Regions from separate parts of the Homo sapiens genome. Here regions 1, 3, 4, 5, 6 and 7 are each linked to region 2. The links are contacts of gene promoters, found by promoter capture Hi-C in blood cells and fetal thymus (Javierre and others, 2016). All regions are on one chromosome and are shown on one strand. The core of a region is centred on a gene start or on the middle of the fragment in contact, and the rest is flanking DNA. Distances in the headings are between cores, read along the strand shown.

Evidence for each region. Contacts are between HindIII fragments. The CHiCAGO score rates a contact against its expected background, and 5 or more counts as called.
Region 1: a fragment that was not itself captured here is called in contact with the fragment with the promoter of IQCB1 in region 2 in 3 of 17 cell types (M1 macrophages, M2 macrophages and M0 macrophages); the score reaches 7.2 in M1 macrophages.
Region 3: a contact is called between a fragment that was not itself captured here and the fragment with the promoter of IQCB1 in region 2, in 3 of 17 cell types (M2 macrophages, M1 macrophages and M0 macrophages). The highest score is 7.4, in M2 macrophages.
Region 4: a contact is called between the fragment with the promoter of CSTA here and the fragment with the promoter of IQCB1 in region 2, in 2 of 17 cell types (monocytes and M1 macrophages). The highest score is 7.6, in monocytes.
Region 5: a contact is called between a fragment that was not itself captured here and the fragment with the promoter of IQCB1 in region 2, in 4 of 17 cell types (M1 macrophages, M2 macrophages, M0 macrophages and 1 more). The highest score is 11.2, in M1 macrophages.
Region 6: a fragment that was not itself captured here is called in contact with the fragment with the promoter of IQCB1 in region 2 in 1 of 17 cell types (M2 macrophages); the score reaches 5.1 in M2 macrophages.
Region 7: a contact is called between a fragment that was not itself captured here and the fragment with the promoter of IQCB1 in region 2, in 1 of 17 cell types (M2 macrophages). The highest score is 5.0, in M2 macrophages.

The regions. Positions count from the first base shown.
Region 1 is chr3:122,284,355-122,287,236 of GRCh38, forward strand. CASR (calcium sensing receptor) reads left to right here. Exons shown (of 7, transcript NM_000388.4): 7 at 1-2,882. The coding sequence ends at 837. Among named protein-coding and RNA genes, the nearest start is that of CSTA, 39 kb to the right of the region's middle. The HindIII fragment of the contact is 4,595 bases long and covers 1-2,882 here.
Region 2 is chr3:121,833,786-121,836,485 of GRCh38, forward strand. It overlaps IQCB1 (IQ motif containing B1), which reads right to left and starts at 1,275. Exons shown (of 15, transcript NM_001023570.4): 1 at 1,181-1,275; 2 at 606-694. It overlaps EAF2 (ELL associated factor 2), which reads left to right and starts at 1,424. Exons shown (of 6, transcript NM_018456.6): 1 at 1,424-1,606. The coding sequence starts at 1,501. The HindIII fragment of the contact is 9,498 bases long and covers 1-2,700 here.
Region 3 is chr3:122,246,546-122,249,272 of GRCh38, forward strand. All of the region lies in intron 1 of CASR (calcium sensing receptor), which reads left to right. Among named protein-coding and RNA genes, the nearest start is that of CASR, 64 kb to the left of the region's middle. The HindIII fragment of the contact is 3,946 bases long and covers 1-2,727 here.
Region 4 is chr3:122,323,938-122,326,637 of GRCh38, forward strand. CSTA (cystatin A) reads left to right here and starts at 1,311. Exons shown (of 3, transcript NM_005213.4): 1 at 1,311-1,421. The coding sequence starts at 1,356. The HindIII fragment of the contact is 6,914 bases long and covers 1-2,700 here.
Region 5 is chr3:122,263,875-122,266,674 of GRCh38, forward strand. The region is part of intron 4 of CASR (calcium sensing receptor); the gene reads left to right. Among named protein-coding and RNA genes, the nearest start is that of CSTA, 60 kb to the right of the region's middle. RefSeq lists a silencer at 1,213-1,314. The HindIII fragment of the contact is 259 bases long and covers 1,335-1,593 here.
Region 6 is chr3:122,106,238-122,109,049 of GRCh38, forward strand. It overlaps CD86 (CD86 molecule), which reads left to right. Exons shown (of 7, transcript NM_175862.5): 4 at 1-263. Among named protein-coding and RNA genes, the nearest start is that of CD86, 52 kb to the left of the region's middle. The HindIII fragment of the contact is 7,908 bases long and covers 1-2,812 here.
Region 7 is chr3:122,229,908-122,232,762 of GRCh38, forward strand. All of the region lies in intron 1 of CASR (calcium sensing receptor), which reads left to right. Among named protein-coding and RNA genes, the nearest start is that of CASR, 48 kb to the left of the region's middle. The HindIII fragment of the contact is 6,113 bases long and covers 1-2,855 here.

The sequences.
Region 1 (2,882 bases), core at 1-2,500, 450 kb after region 2:
TTCAATGAAGCCAAGTTCATCACCTTCAGCATGCTCATCTTCTTCATCGTCTGGATCTCCTTCATTCCAGCCTATGCCAGCACCTATGGCAAGTTTGTCTCTGCCGTAGAGGTGATTGCCATCCTGGCAGCCAGCTTTGGCTTGCTGGCGTGCATCTTCTTCAACAAGATCTACATCATTCTCTTCAAGCCATCCCGCAACACCATCGAGGAGGTGCGTTGCAGCACCGCAGCTCACGCTTTCAAGGTGGCTGCCCGGGCCACGCTGCGCCGCAGCAACGTCTCCCGCAAGCGGTCCAGCAGCCTTGGAGGCTCCACGGGATCCACCCCCTCCTCCTCCATCAGCAGCAAGAGCAACAGCGAAGACCCATTCCCACAGCCCGAGAGGCAGAAGCAGCAGCAGCCGCTGGCCCTAACCCAGCAAGAGCAGCAGCAGCAGCCCCTGACCCTCCCACAGCAGCAACGATCTCAGCAGCAGCCCAGATGCAAGCAGAAGGTCATCTTTGGCAGCGGCACGGTCACCTTCTCACTGAGCTTTGATGAGCCTCAGAAGAACGCCATGGCCCACAGGAATTCTACGCACCAGAACTCCCTGGAGGCCCAGAAAAGCAGCGATACGCTGACCCGACACGAGCCATTACTCCCGCTGCAGTGCGGGGAAACGGACTTAGATCTGACCGTCCAGGAAACAGGTCTGCAAGGACCTGTGGGTGGAGACCAGCGGCCAGAGGTGGAGGACCCTGAAGAGTTGTCCCCAGCACTTGTAGTGTCCAGTTCACAGAGCTTTGTCATCAGTGGTGGAGGCAGCACTGTTACAGAAAACGTAGTGAATTCATAAAATGGAAGGAGAAGACTGGGCTAGGGAGAATGCAGAGAGGTTTCTTGGGGTCCCAGGGAAGAGGAATCGCCCCAGACTCCTTTCCTCTGAGGAAGAAGGGATAATAGACACATCAAATGCCCCGAATTTAGTCACACCATCTTAAATGACAGTGAATTGACCCATGTTCCCTTTAAAATTAAAAAAAAGAAGAGCCTTGTGTTTCTGTGGTTGCATTTGTCAAAGCATTGAGATCTCCACGGTCAGATTTGCTGTTCACCCACATCTAATGTCTCTTCCTCTGTTCTATCCCACCCAACAGCTCAGAGATGAAACTATGGCTTTAAACTACCCTCCAGAGTGTGCAGACTGATGGGACATCAAATTTGCCACCACTAGAGCTGAGAGTCTGAAAGACAGAATGTCACCAGTCCTGCCCAATGCCTTGACAACAGACTGAATTTTAAATGTTCACAACATAAGGAGAATGTATCTCCTCCTATTTATGAAAACCATATGATATTTTGTCTCCTACCTGCTGCTGCTATTATGTAACATCCAGAAGGTTTGCACCCCTCCTATACCATATGTCTGCTTCTGTCCAGGACATGATACTGATGCCATGTTTAGATTCCAGGATCACAAGAATCACCTCAAATTGTTAGGAAGGGACTGCATAAACCAATGAGCTGTATCTGTAATTAATATTCCTATATGTAGCTTTATCCTTAGGAAAATGCTTCTGTTGTAATAGTCCATGGACAATATAAACTGAAAAATGTCAGTCTGGTTTATATAAGGCAGTATTATTGAGCTCTATTTCCCCACCCCACTATCCTCACTCCCATAAGCTAAGCCTTATGTGAGCCCCTTCAGGGACTCAAGGGTCCAGAAGTCCCTCCCATCTCTACCCCAAAGAATTCCTGAAGCCAGATCCACCCTATCCCTGTACAGAGTAAGTTCTCAATTATTGGCCTGCTAATAGCTGCTAGGGTAGGAAAGCGTGGTTCCAAGAAAGATCCACCCTCAAATGTCAGAGCTATGTTCCCTCCAGCAGTGGTATTAATACTGCCGGTCACCCAGGCTCTGGAGCCAGAGAGACAGACCGGGGTTCAAGCCATGGCTTCGTCATTTGCAAGCTGAGTGACTGTAGGCAGGGAACCTTAACCTCTCTAAGCCACAGCTTCTTCATCTTTAAAATAAGGATAATAATCATTCTTTCCCCTCAGAGCTCTTATGTGGATTAAACGAGATAATGTATATAAAGTACTTTAGCCTGGTACCTAGCACACAATAAGCATTCAATAAATATTAGTTAATATTATTACTGATACTGTAATAATTATTTTTTCCCTTACTTCAAATACAAAACAAAACATACATATTAACCATTCAGATTGTACTGCCTAGCCCACTGATCACAATCACTCTCTCTGTAATAAGCCCAAGAGCTCTGGGCCCAACACATGGGGTCAGCCATAGTATCACTGGCTCATGGTGAGGAAGCCAGAAAGCTGGTCAGCCCCTCAGGTGGCCCAATGCCCTGTCTCCGCAGTGTCAGGGCCTGGACCTCCAGCATCCAGGGAAGACCATCACCAGTCTAGCAGGAGGTTCTAAGCTGAGGCCAAACCATTGCAATTAAATCTCCTGAAGCCTCAAATTTTACAGCTCTTGGTGACTTCTTCCCCTGACCACTTTCTTCCAAAGGGGCGCCTTTCAGTGATTTGTAGGGCAAATTGGTGGACTTGATAGTTGTTAAGATTATAATGAGAAATCATTAGAGGGCACCATGTGGGAGCGCGACTGTGAGCAGAAGGTGGTGACTCAGGATGACCCAAGTGAGGTGCCTGCTCCCCACCTAGGAAGGGCACCGGCCCCCACCCAGCCTGCGCCCCCCTGCAGTCATGCCTCTGAGCAAGGCACCGAGCTGAGTGGGGATTTATATTTAACATTTTACTTGGTCTTAAAAGAAATGCTGAAAATGTGATGGTTTCAAAATAACTATGAGGGAACAGCCTCAACAGAATGTGACATACTTCTCCCTCCAGGGTTTGACTTCAATGTCC
Region 2 (2,700 bases), core at 25-2,524:
CCTCCTAGAATGATTCTATTTAGAAGAGAAGGCAGCCACCAAGATGGTCTTAAAATGTAGTATAAGTGTAGAGCTGGGCCTTAAATAACCATTTGGAGACCTCTTATCATGCTCCAGGAATTGTTCTAATTGCTTTCATGTATTAACTCATTTAATCATTCCAACAACTCTAAGGAACAGATACTATTATTTTTTTCCCAATTTGAACAATGAGCATACTTAAACTCTGGAGAATGTAATTAGCTGGCACAAAGTCACACTGTTAAGTATAAAGCAGGGGTTCAAACTAGAGCCACCATCTGCCTTAAAGCATTTAACTACGATATGAAACAGCTTCGGCACACCTTCAAAGGGTAGGATTTACACAGACAGGTTGAAGGAGACATAACCACCTACCCCAAAATCAATTGACAAATGTGCCTAAGGCAGAAGGTGAGGGAGTGCAGTTGGATTGCGTAATTACCCTGAAAAACCACCTGTTATGGAAACCATCTGTAAACTTTCTCGAGTGTTTCTCCTATAATTCAACACTTCTCCCATCTTTACATTAAATTCATGAAATTTGACACAAAAAGACAATTATTTATCTATTTTAAGGCTACTACCCTGTTGCCAGGCCACCGGGTCCGGCCCAGCCTTGATTCTTCGGGAATCACTTCTCCCTCGCCGCGCCTGTTACTGCCTCCACGGATCACTGTGAGGAAAATAAATGAAAAGGAAATTCAGTGCGATCCTGTTGCGGCTGATCCTAAATGTCTGCAGTTGCTATCTCCGAATCCTCTTTCTCCTCCCCACTACACATCCCCTTCTCCAGTCCTAGGACCACAAGAAACTTCCTCTGGTACAAAAAGGTCAGAAAACGATTACTGAGGTAACAGCGTCGCTTCAAGTCTAAGGACCGAGATTCTGGGGCCTCTGGGCTCCTTTACTCCAGATTCTAGACCCGGCTTTCGCGCTACCAGGCCTTGGATAAGACACTAGGCCCTGTGCCTGGACACTGCACCTCCCCAGGCCTCAGTTTCCACACCAGATCTCTACAGAGTGGGCGTGAGGGCAGGCCGATTCTCCCGTTAAGAGCTCTTACAAGCCGGCTGACTTCGTCCAGGAGCCTGGGGTCCTGGCCTCCTGGTAGGCGCCCTGGGGCCCTCTCCCTCCCCAGCCACCACCTCAGATAAGTTACCTCATCCTCGCTTCGCGTTCTTCCACTAAAGAACCTGGGGCTCCCACGCCGCACTACAGCGCCGCGGCCTTCCGGGGCAGCGTGCGTCGCGACGCGGGAAGGGGCCTGGAGGCGGGACTAGGAGCCTCGGAGTCAAGGGGCGGAGCGCCCTTTGCTAATAAGCCAATCAGAACGTGAGACGCTCCGGTGGGGCGGTGCGCGTCGAGCGCGGGGTGGAGTCTGGGTGACTTGGCTGGCGGGATCAAGTGCAGCTGCTTCAGGCTGAGGTGGCAGATAGTGAGCGCTGGTGGCGGAGTTAAAGTCAAAGCAGGAGAGTAATTATGAATAGCGCAGCGGGATTCTCACACCTAGACCGTCGCGAGCGGGTTCTCAAGTTAGGGGAGAGTTTCGAGAAGCAGCCGCGCTGCGCCTTCCACACTGTGCGCTGTGAGTGAGGACCATCCGGGGATAGAGGGGGAGCCTCCCGGGATGGGGGTGAAGAGGCACAAACCCCTCTGGGTTTTGTTCCCACAGTACCCCTTACACTGTTGGAGACTACGGGGCGGGGAGGGGGGAGGCAGCGCGATCCTCTAACCTGCTCGGAGTCTTAGGGGGTCGGTGGAAGGAATCGGAGTAGAGCAAATGTGGGTAAACCCTGGACAGAGAGCGTTGAGACCAGCAGACAGGAAGGGAAAGTGTGAAAAAAGTCTGTAGAGGTGACTGTGGAGACAGACGTGACAGGTGGATGATGCAGGGGTGGACAGGAAAATAATAAGGTGACAAATGGGAAGGGACTAAGGACCGAATGCCGGGGAACTTGAATGCCTTGAGGCTGGTGGGGCAATATTCTCTCTTTTCATCACTTTTTCTCACCTCTGGCAGATGAGGGTTCTTATTTGGTGTGTTCTTTGCAAAGGGAGAAATTCTCAACCATCCCAATGATCTGTATATCTCTTTGGACCCCAGATTTCACTCAGTTATCAAATACTGATTATCAAAGTATTCGAGGGTGTGTTATTAATTTCTTTATTTGGAAGATGCTTACCTCCCTATGATTTCTACCCTTTGGTTTTCTTTATGTCCTCTGGAACTAGTTTTAATAAATTATTCTCTTTTATGTTGTTGGAGTAGAAAAAGGAGCTCTTTTGCTTTAGCAGTTGGATGATATAGATTCCAGGAAGGAAAATATAGCATATAAGTTTTTATGTGTAAGACATTCGTTTTTTGCATAACAACTGTCATAGAATTGTAGAGCGGGAAGGAAACTTCAAGATCACTGAATTATAACTTCTCATTTTTCTGTGGTAAAACTGTAAGTATTTTTTCACTTCCTTTCCCCAGCCTTGCCCTTCCTTAATATCTCATCATTCCGCCTTTCTCAGTCATTCTGTTCTCGGGTTGTTTAGAGACCTTTATGGTTTTTACTCTGAAATGTTCCATGGTTCAATCAAAACAACTAATTAAAGCATACATTCTCCCAAAAGTTTATTTAAGTTGTAGACAATTTAGTTATAGTTACTCAAAGTAAAGGTATGAAGAAC
Region 3 (2,727 bases), core at 165-2,664, 410 kb after region 2:
AGGTTTTCCAAAGAAAACCAGAATTTCCATGTGCTTAGAAAGATGTCCCCACGATGTGCTAGAACAGGCTTCTATCGGCGCTTGAGAGCCGATGGTTAAATATTCAGATTTTTTACAAATATGTTGTTAAACCATTGGTAGCTTGAAACTGACCATGGTGGGAATATTTAGCATACACCACAAGTCAGGTCTTGTTTTTCTTTTAGAAGCCAGACTACAAGCACACCACCACATGTCCCCAGTGGTCCTCAGACAAAGACACTGTGTGAGGTCAGGAGAGTTGCAAGTGGATGGGGAAAGGCTCAGTGTACAACTTTCTATGTACAATAGAAACCCATCCCTCAGGAGTAGCGGAGAACAGAAACATATGCCTGACCAGAGAATGACTTCAAAGTTACATCAGCAGTCACCCACCCCACCTGAGTCCTTCTTTCCAATAATACCCTTTGGAATTTCATACCTGGGATTACAAAAACTGCTATGCCCATTGAGGGGCAGACATATCTCCCCATTCAAAGATACACCTAAACAAATGCGAGAATCTCAGATTACAGACTTTATGCTTTCCACTCAGTCAGCCCTTCCAAGCCCATGTTTCACGGCATCATGAAAAGTGTCCTTCAGGGAAGAAAAAAAGTGTCCCATACCAAAATAAGCAATAATCTTTATTGCAGGACTTCTCAGAGCCTTTAAGGAGGCATATGTGCTCCTGTGGCAGAGTGTACATTAGTTCCCAAACTTGTTTTACCCCAGAACACTTCCTGGTGACACATCTTGGGACATCATACTGAAAAATGCCACCCTGGGTAGTCAGGGTTCCTTATGATTTGGAGAGGCAACGCCAGGATGTTATTCCACAGAAATGTTTCTTTTATGTAGGACTTGAGGCTCTGGCATTTTTCTTTATAAAAACATGAGTTGCATATCTTCGCTTTTCAAATGAACCATTTCATTAACTCTGTTGGTGTTCATACATCCGTCAGCAGAGCTGACTTAAGGCATAAAGGAAACAGTTCAGGACAAGAAGTTTCTTAACTTCCTGTGGGCTATGTCGCCAGCAACTCACTCAGTCCTATGTGGACACAGAGTTTGTTATGTTGCCGGCAGTACACACAAGTATGCACCCACTCAACCATCATCATGGAGCCCCTCCATGTTCCAGGCCGCGGATGGGACAGACCTGGCCCTGTCTTCAAGGAGCTCAGGATGCAGCATTAATGAATGTCAGCTTCCTCTATTTACAGCCTTTCTTTGCTTTGTCTAGGCTTCTGTTTCCCCACTTTGCTCTGTGCCCTGTGCTGCTCCTCACCACTCTTGTTCATCCTTTTCCCTCCCTTCCCTGATAGCTTTTTCCAATGACTCACAAGAACCCACCCAGCTCAGCTGCTTTTCATTACGCTCCTGTCTTTGCATTTTTCCAACTCAATTAAGCCATTACCAGAACTAAATGAGGCATGGACTCCCCAAAAGTCACACCTGTTGTCAGGGAGATGGAGGGCAAGACCATGTGCAGCTGGCAGGCAGACAGCAGAAGCCGGGCTTGGGCTTGCGGGAGGCAGCCAAGGGTGACCGGGCAATTTGTGTTTCCCCCAGTGCCGAAAGAGGGCCCTCATTTTAAAACAACATGTGCCTTGCTTTGGTACAGAAGGAATGAAGTCTGATATAGAACTAGGGATGGCCGTATTGGTGATGGCAGGTAAGAGTCCCTAATTCTTTGGCAAATGTGCACCAGCTGTGTATAGAAACCCATATTGTGGATGTCTCTTCAGCAAGAGGTAAAGGAAGCTGCAACTACAGCCAGGCACGTGAGTTTGGTGATTATTGATTAAACTTTTTCAGGTTTATTTTTCCTGTTCACCCTCATTAAAACATACACATTTCACCTTTCTGCAATAGTGGCTTCAGACCCTACTGTTAGTATCTTTATGATCATTGTGACGAAAGAGAGTAAAGATTACAGTACAATAAACCAGAGACATAGCAGTGTACTCACGTTATGGAGATAAATTCTATTGGAAATCAAATTTGGTCTTATAATTCTCTTTTTTCTAGGCAACCTAGAATTTTTTTTTTTTTTTTGCCATCTAGGAATTCAAAAATAGTAGCTTTTGAGCTTGCTGTGCCTTTAATTTACTGAGTGATTTTATGTTCAGAAGGTCTGCGCCTGGGTTTTCTCTATTTGAAATGTGAGCAAAATCATTTTGCTCTAGAGATTCACAATTTCCAGAAATGTTGAGGCCAAGAGGTGAGAGTAGGGGTGGTTTTTATTTGGAAGAAAATTGAAATGTGGCAGTGTTCACTCCTGACGTTGTTTTGCTATCCTCTGTTAACTTGTTTTGACTCCGGAACTTGGATTAGCCACGTAGCTACTCTTTGGACAACAAGTTCAACAGACATTTTTAGAGCATCCATTTAGTACCAGGTTCTTTGTTTGATGCTGAGGATGCAGCTATGATCATGGAGAAGCCTCTGCCTACAGGAACCATCAGTCTCGTGGGGTGACCCCTTCCTTGTCCTGTCCAGGAATTGCCCAACCAGCCTCTGGTCTTTACTGTGTACACTTCATACATTTGTTCAACGAATATTTGTGAATCATTTGTGCCAGGTGCTGTGCTGGGTGCTAGGCAACAATGGTGAAGAAAAGAGACAGGCCTTGGCCTCATGAAGTTTCTGGTCCCCACCTTGACTTAATTCTCTTTCCCAGCAATCACCAGAGAATATCACTAT
Region 4 (2,700 bases), core at 61-2,560, 490 kb after region 2:
TTGTATGTGTAAAGAATGTCTCTGAAGGATACAGAAGAAGTTGGTGCCAATAATTGTCTCTGGAGAGTAGAAGGGTGTCTGAGGAATTAAGTGAGTGAATAATTCCTTATATTGTAAAGCCTGGTTCCTTCCAAACATTTTTATCCTGTGTATGTATTATATATTCCCAAAATTGAATAAAATAATATACATAAATATTCACACAATGTGGCCATTTTGCTTCTAGATAAGTTGTCTGCAGAAGCCCTCACTCATGTAAAAAGGAGAAAAAATGCAACGTTGTTTGTAAGAATGAAACACCAGAAACAACGAAAATCGTCATCAATAGAGAAATGAGTATGTAAAATATGAACTAGAATATAGCAATTAGATAGGTAGACTAAATAGATAGGTCTAGCATAAAATAGCATATCACAGTTAAAGGAAATGAACAGGATTGATCTATCTGTGGATTGATCTATGTGTATATCAACATAGAAAGGCTCAAAAACATGTTGAATAGAAAAAGGAACATAACATAGAATATATTTAGCATACAATTTAAGTGAAATTTTAAAGACACACCAAGTAAGACATATTTTAATTTTAAAGACACACATATAAAAATGGCCTGGAAGGATATTAATTCACCATGTACTTTGCCTTCTGGAAGGCAAGGTTGCGTGGGGTGTGGGGCTTCCTCCATATCTGTAATATTTTATTTCCTAAAAATAACTACAAAAATAAAAAACAGCAAGCAAATATGACAAAAGGGTTAAAAGTTTTAATTCTGAGTGATAGAAATATAGATGTTTGTTATTTTATTCTTTGTGTTTTACCGTATGTTAAACATTTCCAGATATTTAAATAAGAGTAAAGAAGACACATCCAGCCAAGGTCCTCCAGATAGATCCTTTTGCTTTCTTTCTAAAGTCAAGTAAATTCTAAACTAACCTTGACATTATTAGTAAGTTTTGCTTTAAAAAAAATAAAATTTTGTGTTAGAAGTTTTAAAACATTTGGAAATTCTAGTTGCGGCTTCAGATTTCATAATTCAGATGATGCAACAGGATGGAACCATTGTCAAAGAGAATGCAGGGACGTTTGATGCTTGTTAGGACATGACTCCTGTACTTGCCCATTTGTTCATCCTCCAACCCCTCTTTCTTCCAAATTCCATGTAGCATATTCTCTCCAGGAAGCAAGAAGACTTGCCTGGCGGCATACTCATTTTCCCCATGCCTCTTTGCTGTTTGTGGAAAATAAAGCATTCTATAGGCGGAGCTAGTGAACGCCTCTTTTAAAACACGAGTCTCCACACTTCCCTGTTCACTTTGGTTCCAGCATCCTGTCCAGCAAAGAAGCAATCAGCCAAAATGATACCTGGAGGCTTATCTGAGGCCAAACCCGCCACTCCAGAAATCCAGGAGATTGTTGATAAGGTGAGTTGATGCCATTCAGGAAAAAGTCTGAGCCAAAATCTTGATTCATAAGTTGTCCCTGTGGAAAGGCTGTGGTTGAACATGAAAACCAGAAGTTTAGGATGTTTGTGGCTTTGTTCAGGTTTCTTTACAACTAAGATGAAATAAGAGTTTTTCAGATGAAGCCTCAAATAATCCCCAAACTGTGAGTGTGACCTTGAGCAAATCACATTTCTTCTCTGAGCTTCATTTTCTCCATGGGTAAAAGAATTTGTATTGTATCTTCTCTAAAGCTCTTACAAGATATGATTCTAGAATTACTAATTCAGTTTCTGATGAAACTTTTCTAATCTCACCAAGTGAAGCCAACGTGTAATTGAAGTCTAAGGTTATTAACAATTTGATGAAGTAGTCTTGGAATGCACTGCAGGGAAAATTTTTTTAAATAGATTGAATGAAGAATAATATTGTAAAGGCAATCTACTTACAAACTTCATACACTTTTGCCCAAATAGATAGTGTTTTAGTCTTTTCATAGTTAAAAGGTAATTCAACTAATAGAACAGAGGTGACAGTCTATAGTGACTCCGAAATGTCATAGGGCACCAAATTATATATGGAAAAATAGAACTCAATGTTGTTAGCAGATTGATGTGTTTTTCACTTCTTCTTTTTTGTTTTGTTTTGTTTCATTTTTAAGAGATGGGGTCTCACTCTGTCACCCAGGCTGGAGTGCAATGGTCTGATCACGGCTCACTGTAGCCTCAACTTTTTGAGTTCAAGCGATCCTCCCCACTCAGCCTCCTGAGTAGCTGGGATTACAGACATATGCCACCACGCCTGGCTGATTTGGGGGGTTTTGTTTTGTTTTGTTTTTAGAGATGGCATTTCATTCTGTTGCTAGACTGGTCTTGAATTCCTGGGCTCAAGCCATCCACTCACCTAGGCTTCCCAAAGTATTGGGATTACAGGCGTGAGCCACCACACCCATCCCTGATATATTTTTCTTTGTGTGATTAGCTATCATCTAGCTATGTAGTAAACATTTATTTGCATATTTTATGAAAGGAAAACATGTACAAATTACTACTTTAGGTTTTTAGTTTGTTGCCTTATTTTCTTATATTATTCCTTCTTATTTTTTCTCTCTGAAACATCATTCTATGACAGCTTGGAAAACAAGATCAGCTTTTTGTGTGATTATAAGAGTTGGGATCCTGTATATTCTGGGAACTAGAAAGCTCTCTAAGGGGCCAGATGCCTAGAATCCCATCACTCATTCTTGGGGACTAATTATTTC
Region 5 (2,800 bases), core at 214-2,713, 430 kb after region 2:
TAGGAGGAGTAAGGGAGCAATCTTCTAGGTGGTTGTTACTATTGTCTTTTCTTTCTTACCTCTCACGTCCAATGCAAGGAGGACCTCAGTTCTTGAAAAAACTGCAAGACAAGAGTAGGGTTGAAGGAAAAACAGGCTTCAAGGGGGAAACTTGGCAGTTCTACTCTTCAATGGCTCCTCTTCCAGATAAGGAAATAAAATACAGATGGTCAAGACCAGACCTTGGACCTGTGAGAAAAAAAAAAAAGCCATGACAGGCTACAGTCACAACTGGGACTTTTAGTTGTGTAATAGAAAGCCCTAACCAAATTGGCATAAACAAAAAAAGAGGAAATGTAGTGAGTGGGTCATGTCACTAAAAATCTCAGAAGTGTTCCAGGTACAGCTAGGTATTTTCATCTCATCTTTCTGTTCTTCATTCCCCAGGGTTAGCAATTTTCAGCTTCTGTAGCAGCTTGAAGCTAGGATCTCCTTACTTCCCAAGATATCCTGTAAAAGTTCCAGAAACCACATTTATTGACCATTCCTAAGTCATGGATCCATCCCTGATGCTAGCAGTCCTCCAGACTACATAGACTTAGAGTAAGGGGGGAGTGAATCTCCAGTGGGAAGTCAGGATGCCATTACCAAAAGGAGGAAGAAATAGAAGCAAAGCAGCCAACATTCAAAATGTCCACTACACAGACACTTCACCCAACCATGGCCCAGGTAAAGATATGTTCTCCTGACTCTTACATGGTCTGGAAAAATCTCCCCAGGAGACAGCACAGATAGGAAAATGGGATCAGAACTCTAGGGAGGAATGACATGGGAAATTGGCCAAAATGTCCTGAGTGCTTGGTGTGAGTCTCCTTTGAGCCTCAGGAACCCAGGCTGTTGGATGGGCGTTCCAGAATTTGAGGTCTTGGCCAGGAGATGAACTAGCAATTATTCATTCTCATTATTAAGACCTATATCTTCATCAGGAAATCAACTAGCAATTATTCATTCATTCTCAATATTAAGATCTATATGGAAACTTATCACCTATAATCTAATCCAAGTCTCCAGCTGGAACTCCATGTCTGCCTTCTCTCAGTTCTTCCCCTATAAGCCAACCTGCATGACACCTCCTCACAAATCACTCATTAGTTTTTGGCACAGCATCTTTGCATAGGCCATAGCCCACACCAGAAGGGCCATCAATTTTTATCTCTGCTGTCATTTTCCACCAGGAACATTTAAATTGTTTTCAAAATCCACTTTCCCCTGGAAGTCTTTTCAAATCGTATTCCCACAACACATTTTCTGATCATTCTCGCTTCCTCATTTTTGATGTTTATATACCCAGCTTAAGCTTCCACAGCTCTTTAATTGACTGAAATAGACACTTATTAGTTAAAATTCTGGTTATAAGGGTCAATCACAATTTTTTTCCTTTCTTTCTCCCCAAAAAAATATTTATCAGTCAACTCATATGCCTCAAAAGTAGCACTAGCAGGTGATTTATGAGCATACAACTCACAATTGCCTCCTGACCTCTTCTTGGAGACCCCCAAGCCCTCCTCACATCCCTTCCCAGCTCTCTCTTCACTACTCCTTTGCTGTACTCTAAGCTTCATAAGATCCAGAACCATGCCTGTATTGTTCAGTACTATGTTCAGAATGCCTGTCGCTGGAATATTCATTGAATGAATGAATGAGTGAATAGCAGTCTAGTTGATTTGACCTGTCAACACTACCTATAGGCCTTTGCAGGGAACCGTTTGAGCCAACAACCCATTCTTGAATCAATCACTGTGGCCAAGGTATTCTAGGCTCTGTTTGGACAAGCTTTGGTCACGTGCCCACTATCAAGTTTGAGTGGAACATCATGTAAGTATGAAATCACCTTCTTTCTTCTCTCAGGATGATCATGCACAAGGTGTGCTTCCTACTCTCCTGCACCTCACACCAACACTCACTAGTCAGAAAACAGGCGTGCAGCCATGGTGAAGATGGAAGTCAGATGGAGCTGATCTTTCTAGGAATTCCTGGTACTGCTGGAAGTTGGGGAATGGGGGATAAATTGTGAGGACAGCCAGAGAAGATGGAAGGGAGATAAGAAAACATGGCTGGCGTTAGAGAAGGGAATTGGGCCTGGATCTTCCCCATGCTCTTACCACAGGAACTGGGCAAGATAATGAACTTCATTATCTTGTTCATTATCTGTGTGACCTGGCCCTCATTATCTGTATAAGAGCTGGAAGTCCTAGACCAGAGTGGGGGGGTTTCTAGTCTCTAATGTTCAGTTTAATTCAATTGACGCTACTAAGAATGTGTGCCAAGAGGTGATTTCCATTTATGCTTATAATGAGCAACCGTTTGACTTTAAAATCTTTTAGGGGAAATACCCTAAAAGACCACAAGATGGGAATATTATGGCATAAAAGAGTATGTTAGCTTCTAAGTGCATGCATGTCCTGTATTTGCCCCTCTTTTAGATCTATGTGTCTTTCTTGGTGGTGTTTTCTTTGTGAGCCTGTAAGTCTCTTTGTGTCTGTATGTTATGTTCTATGTTCAGATCTTTTTGTTTGTTTGTGTTTTGTTTTTTTGAGGCAGAGTCTTGCTCTGTCACCCAGGCTGGAATGCAGCGGCCCGATCTTGGCTCACTGCAAACTCCGCCTCCCAGGTTCAAGCAGTACTCCTATGTTTGGATCTTTCTACTAGCTTTTTTTGTTTCTCTTCCCCTTCGTTTATTCTTTTTCCTCATATTACTCCCCAAATAAAATAAATAATTTGGAAGCATATAATATTGGATAATAATCTCAAGTAAAATTTT
Region 6 (2,812 bases), core at 1-2,500, 270 kb after region 2:
AACAGAAAATGTGTACATAAATTTGACCTGCTCATCTATACACGGTTACCCAGAACCTAAGAAGATGAGTGTTTTGCTAAGAACCAAGAATTCAACTATCGAGTATGATGGTGTTATGCAGAAATCTCAAGATAATGTCACAGAACTGTACGACGTTTCCATCAGCTTGTCTGTTTCATTCCCTGATGTTACGAGCAATATGACCATCTTCTGTATTCTGGAAACTGACAAGACGCGGCTTTTATCTTCACCTTTCTCTATAGGTAAAGCTGTTTTCCAAGACTATTTCTTTCAGCAGGTATTATACACAAATGCTTAAGGCAGATCATCCAATGTCCCCGACTTGCTAGGAAACCTCCAACTGGGCCATTTTATGACGCTGTTAGGAAGGACCCAGATGGAGGTCTCCTGCTTCTCCTGAGTGATGCAGGGTCCAGGAGGCTACGAGCCTATGTTGCACTTGAAGAAATATGCTTTTAGCCCTGAAACTGACTCAGTCTCTTGGTTTACCTTTGGATGGAGGATTCTGAAGTTTTGATTTAAAAATACAGGATTCCTCCAGGCTAGAATTCTTTCTTTGATTACAACACATACATGCGCTTGCACACACACACACACACACACACACACACACCATGCATACATGCAGACATACAAATGATATTTATTGTGAGTATAGAACCATTTGGGACATTATTGGTCACAGGAGTGAAAACAAAAAGATATGACACCCCCTCTGCCCTTGAGGACCTTCCAATAGAATCAGAACCCTGTAATGTGCACACATGAAAAACTGGATTTTTAAAAGGTTGAATTGGAATCTAAATTTTATTCCATGGAAATATCTGACTAAATTTAAAATAAAAGTGACTGGTAATGAGATTTATGGGCATTCAGAGGTAGGCAAGATCCCTGAGGGTCAGGGAATGGTTCCTAAAGGAAGGGGTACCTTGTAACATGTAAAATAAATTATTGGGGTTAATAAATGTGGTGAGGAGGGGAGGGCATTCTGGATGACAGGTTCCCAAAACTGTGGTGACTTCCGTAGCTGAAAAAATTTGAGACAGTATCTGGGCTAAGCAGGTGAGAGGACCACAGTGGATCAGCTGTATCTGACGTAAGTGCAGGAGGTATGTCAAAGAAAGCCTTGGAGGCAGAAATGCTTGTGTGTTCACAAGTATTCTTCAGGGACAAGTTCAGTGGAGGAAAGGATTGAAACTAAGCAGTAGCCACTAATAGGAGCCTGACATTTTAAAGTCCTGGCTTTACCCAGGAGGGCATGTGTCTATATTTGACTCCTCTTTTAAGAAGCTGTAACTGCAAGATTCCCTCCTGGAATAAAGGTGGTCTGCATCTACCCTGTCCCATCACTGCCTGTGCTGACCTTGACACCCACATCTGCCTTCTTCTTACCTTGACCCCTTCTCCAGCGGTGATTTCTTGGCTTGCCCCCTCCAGTGACATCCATCCAACTCCTTGCTCCATACCCTGGCTTTGTCACCTCCTTTCTCCCAGTGTCTTGTTGTTCAGATATAACTTGGTCTGTGAACAGCCCACGGGGCCAGTCCCCATGAACCAACTTTACAACTGGGCCAATCTCATCTCCTGCTACTGACTTCTTCCTATTCAGACACTTCAGCCTCTGAGAATCCAGTAAATGGTGGAGCCAACTCGTCCTGTCCCAGTTGCTTCTCCTGTATCCTCTCTTGGCCAGATAGAAGCCTCTCCAAGCTATGCCTGAAGTTCAGTACCTCCTTCAATGTGTAATTAGTTTGATTGGTGGCCACAAGATGGCCATATATGACATGCCCCAGGGCCCTCTGTTACGGCTCCCATAGTCTACAAATTAACAGGGGCTTGCCACCACTATAACCTCATCATGGCTCACCTTCCTGCTGCTTCTCAACTACTGTTCTGCCAAACTTCAACAGGTACCCCCATCTTCAGAAATGTTTCAGCTCTAGCTGCCTCAGGAAGATGGGGCTTGCCTCTCTGGGTTTCCCATTCTATCGCTTGATCAGAGATAGGTTAGACCCTGAGTCAAGGGGCCTTTTTTGCATGTTAAAAGGTAGCAGCCTCCACGTTAGTAAGTATAACCCCTAACCCCCTTTACTGGGAGTGCCAAACTGGCTCAAGTGGAATAGACTGGGACAGACTCAAAAGGGATTAAATATGGCCTGCAATGCCAACAACTTCTTAACATCCCAGAAACAGGGCATGTGTCTACAAATTATAGCTAAGCTAATAGATCAGCTGGTCCTAATTTTCCTGAAATTTGGGATTAGCTACCAGAACTGTTCCCAAAAATGTCTTTAAAGTGGGCGACTCCGTTCTAAGTTTTCCCCACAAAGCCTGTTTTCCAACTCCCCAGAAACTTAGGAGTTCTCATGTAAGGAAGTAGTTCCTGAAGGCGTGAAGGTTCCTCAAGGCATGAAGAAACATCAAAGGTTTTTCAGTAGATGAGATATGCTGAAAGCCATGCAGAGGAAACCTGCTGTGACCTCAGTAGGAAAAAACTAAACAAACAAGCAAATGAAAACTAGAGGTAGGGGCCTGTGGAAGCTGTTCCATTTGTCCAAGTGAGAGGTGTCTGGAGATTATAGTGGACAGAAGAATCATCACGAGAGGAACTTCAGGGCCTGGGAACTGACTGCAGAGGGGGGCAGGATAGCAGGCACGGCACAAATGACTGCACGTGCAGAGCCTCAGCACAGACACCTCACCCAGATTCCAGAATCACGGGCCAGGCTGACCCTCTTCTTCCTGATCATGGTCGGTGTTATCCCCACCTCCATGAAGGCATGGCAGCTCA
Region 7 (2,855 bases), core at 3-2,502, 400 kb after region 2:
TAAACTATGAAATAATGAGAGACTGTACATTTCTGTTCTACTGCTAACACTGCTAGTGTGTGGCCTGTGACTTGGCAAGCTGCTTCCTGTTTCTGAGCCACAGTTTACCTATTTGTAAAATGGAAGATTTGTACTAAACATATTCTGAGATGCCTTCTTGGCCCCGGCATTACAGTATTGGATTCTAATCATGTATTCATTCTGCTCAGAAATGTTTCTGGTGTTTCTGGTCTTAAGTTATCAATAACCCCTGGTAGAGTCTGGGACATTGGGACGAGATCCTGCAAGCTCAGCCTAGGCTTGCCGGCAGCTGTTTGAAGGAGTCACTCGCATGGACCAGTAAAGCAAAGGCAGCGATGACGCCTCGCGGTGAGGGCCAGAACCCAAGTCCAGGGAAAACGCTCCTTTAGCGCCACGCATTACAAAACAACCTCTCCTCCTTGCTGACGCTGCCGCCACATCCGGGGTGAAAATCGAGCCTAGATCTTTCTGCTCCAGCACAGCCTGGCCTGCAGCGGATGCGGGCGTGAGAGGGACGCAGGAGCAGCGGGGGCGGGGATGCTGCTGACCGTGGAGAAAGCAACCTCCTTCCCTGAGGGGCTTCCCCTCTCTGCGCCACCATCCCCCACCCCCTGCAACAGGGCAGCGGCTGAACCCATCTCTGTAGGTGGGAGGTGGGATGGGAGGGAGGAGGAAGACCCTCTCACCTGAGCAGGACTTGGAAAGGAACCAGGAAGAGAGCCCACTTCCAAATCCAGTCTCTTCCACTGAGGTTCCACCTGCATAGAAGGGGCTTCCTGGGACCCACCAAGCCCGTGATACCACTTGGTCATCTTACAAGAGAAGACACCAAAGCCCAGAGAAGGAAGCAGCTGTCCCAAGGAGGAGCAGCTAGGTGGGGACTAGAACCACCATATCCTGGCCCCTTCTACTTCTCTGTCCCCTCCACTAGACTTCTTCAGCCAAAGGGGGTTTCTCTTTTTTTAGTTTCTTTGCAAACCTGCTTCCAAATATTTGTATTGACCTATCGGATTGATACTTAAAGAATCAGGGATTTGTGCATTTGACACCTGAAACTCATCTGTCCCCTAAGGATCTTCTTGTGTGTTCTGCTTACCATCCACTCAGAATTTTTGCAGCTTTTTGAGGGTCATCATCCACCTGCAGTCACTTTAGAGACATCAGAAAGTGTCATGATCATGATCCCCTTGTAGAAGTGAGAAGTGTGTCCTGCAGCTAATCCCATCCACCATGCAGACAGGATGCTAACCAGTCTCAGAGGACACCATTCCTCTGGCCCACCTGTTGGGTGGCTTACCTGACTTTCTGCCCCAGTCCTGTCTCAGCATCATACACTTGCTGTTTGAAGGTGGCCATCCCACGAGTGGGCTAAACTAGGCATTCTAGGACTGGTCAGGAGGTGGCAAGTCATCATGCTGATCAATTCAATTAGTAAAGGCACTGTTTGGGAAGAGAGAGGGGGACACTATCACCATCATACGAAGAGCTAATGTTTTTTGAGCATTTACTATGTGGTAGACTTTATGCTAAATTCTTACAAGTATTGTTTTAATATAATCCTTACAGCAACCGTACTATTGTTATTCCTGTGTGGACAATGAGGAGACAGAGGCACATAAGGAAAAGGTTACTAAATGGGGAATAAGGAAACTCATCTTCCATTCTTTCTCTATCTCTCTGTAATCTCGTGCTAGTCACTTAACCTTGCCTTTCTGGTACATGAAACATCTGAATTGGAAGAAATTATGTGCATATGTGCATTTTTCTGGAAAGAGCAGCCACAATTTTCATCAGCATCTCAAAGACACCCATTACCCCCCTCCCACTCACAAAAAAAAAAAAAATCAAAGAACTCTCAGGACTATCTCATTTTATAGCCTTTTTCACACTAAACAATTTACCTTGCATTCTCTTCTAACATTGTAAATACCGACGGGCTTGAGCAGTACCGATAGGCAGATTCAGATTACAGTCACCCCTGAGCCAAAGACCTCTCTGTGATTCAGGGGTGTGAAGGGCTCCTGGCTGTGCACTGGCCTTTCCAGCACACCCGCATGTCCAGATAGCCATCGCAGGAAGGACGACGTGGGGATGGGATCATCAGATTCACCCTCCAGCTACTTGCAACACCTCAGCAGTTTTACTTCAGCTTGTTGTATTCTTTCCTTGCAACTGGACTGTAAGTTTATATTGCAACCCCAAGAAAAGATTCACAATCCCTTTTTTTTATTGTACTATAAAAAGAATTCTAGTGATAGAACCTCCACAGGGCTTGAAGTGAAGCAGCCATTCATTAAGTGTCTGCTGTGTCCTGAGTATGCCAGCAATGAACAAGACAGACCAGGTCCCTGGCTGCATAAAGAGCAAGAGGGACTGTGGCAGGGAAGTGCCACGCAGATGCAGAGAGCACGAGAGTGAGGCCTGGAGAACCAGGAGGGGCTTCCTTGAGAAGTGGTGTTTGAGCCACTGAAGGATCCCTGAAGAATGCCTCATCCCTGATGGATGAAGAGAAATGAATTAAGCAAGAGGCACAGGTCAGAGGGGTGGAAGAGCATTCTGAGAGGGATGGGAAGGGCCCAAGGCAATAAAGAACTTGGCCCACTGGAGGAACTGAAGGGAGGGCAGGCTAGGTGCCAAGAGAGGGAGAGTGGTGTGGGAGATGCAGCCGGAGAGGAGGCAGGGCCAGTGTATGCAGGGCCCAGGAATCGCCAGGTGGGATGCTAACTGGCTGTGGGCTGTTGGCAAGGCAGGTAACAGCTCACATGTTCCATTTCCTTATCTTCAAGGTGAGAGTCTTCAATTAGATGATCTCGAAAGCCCTTTCTGACTCTACC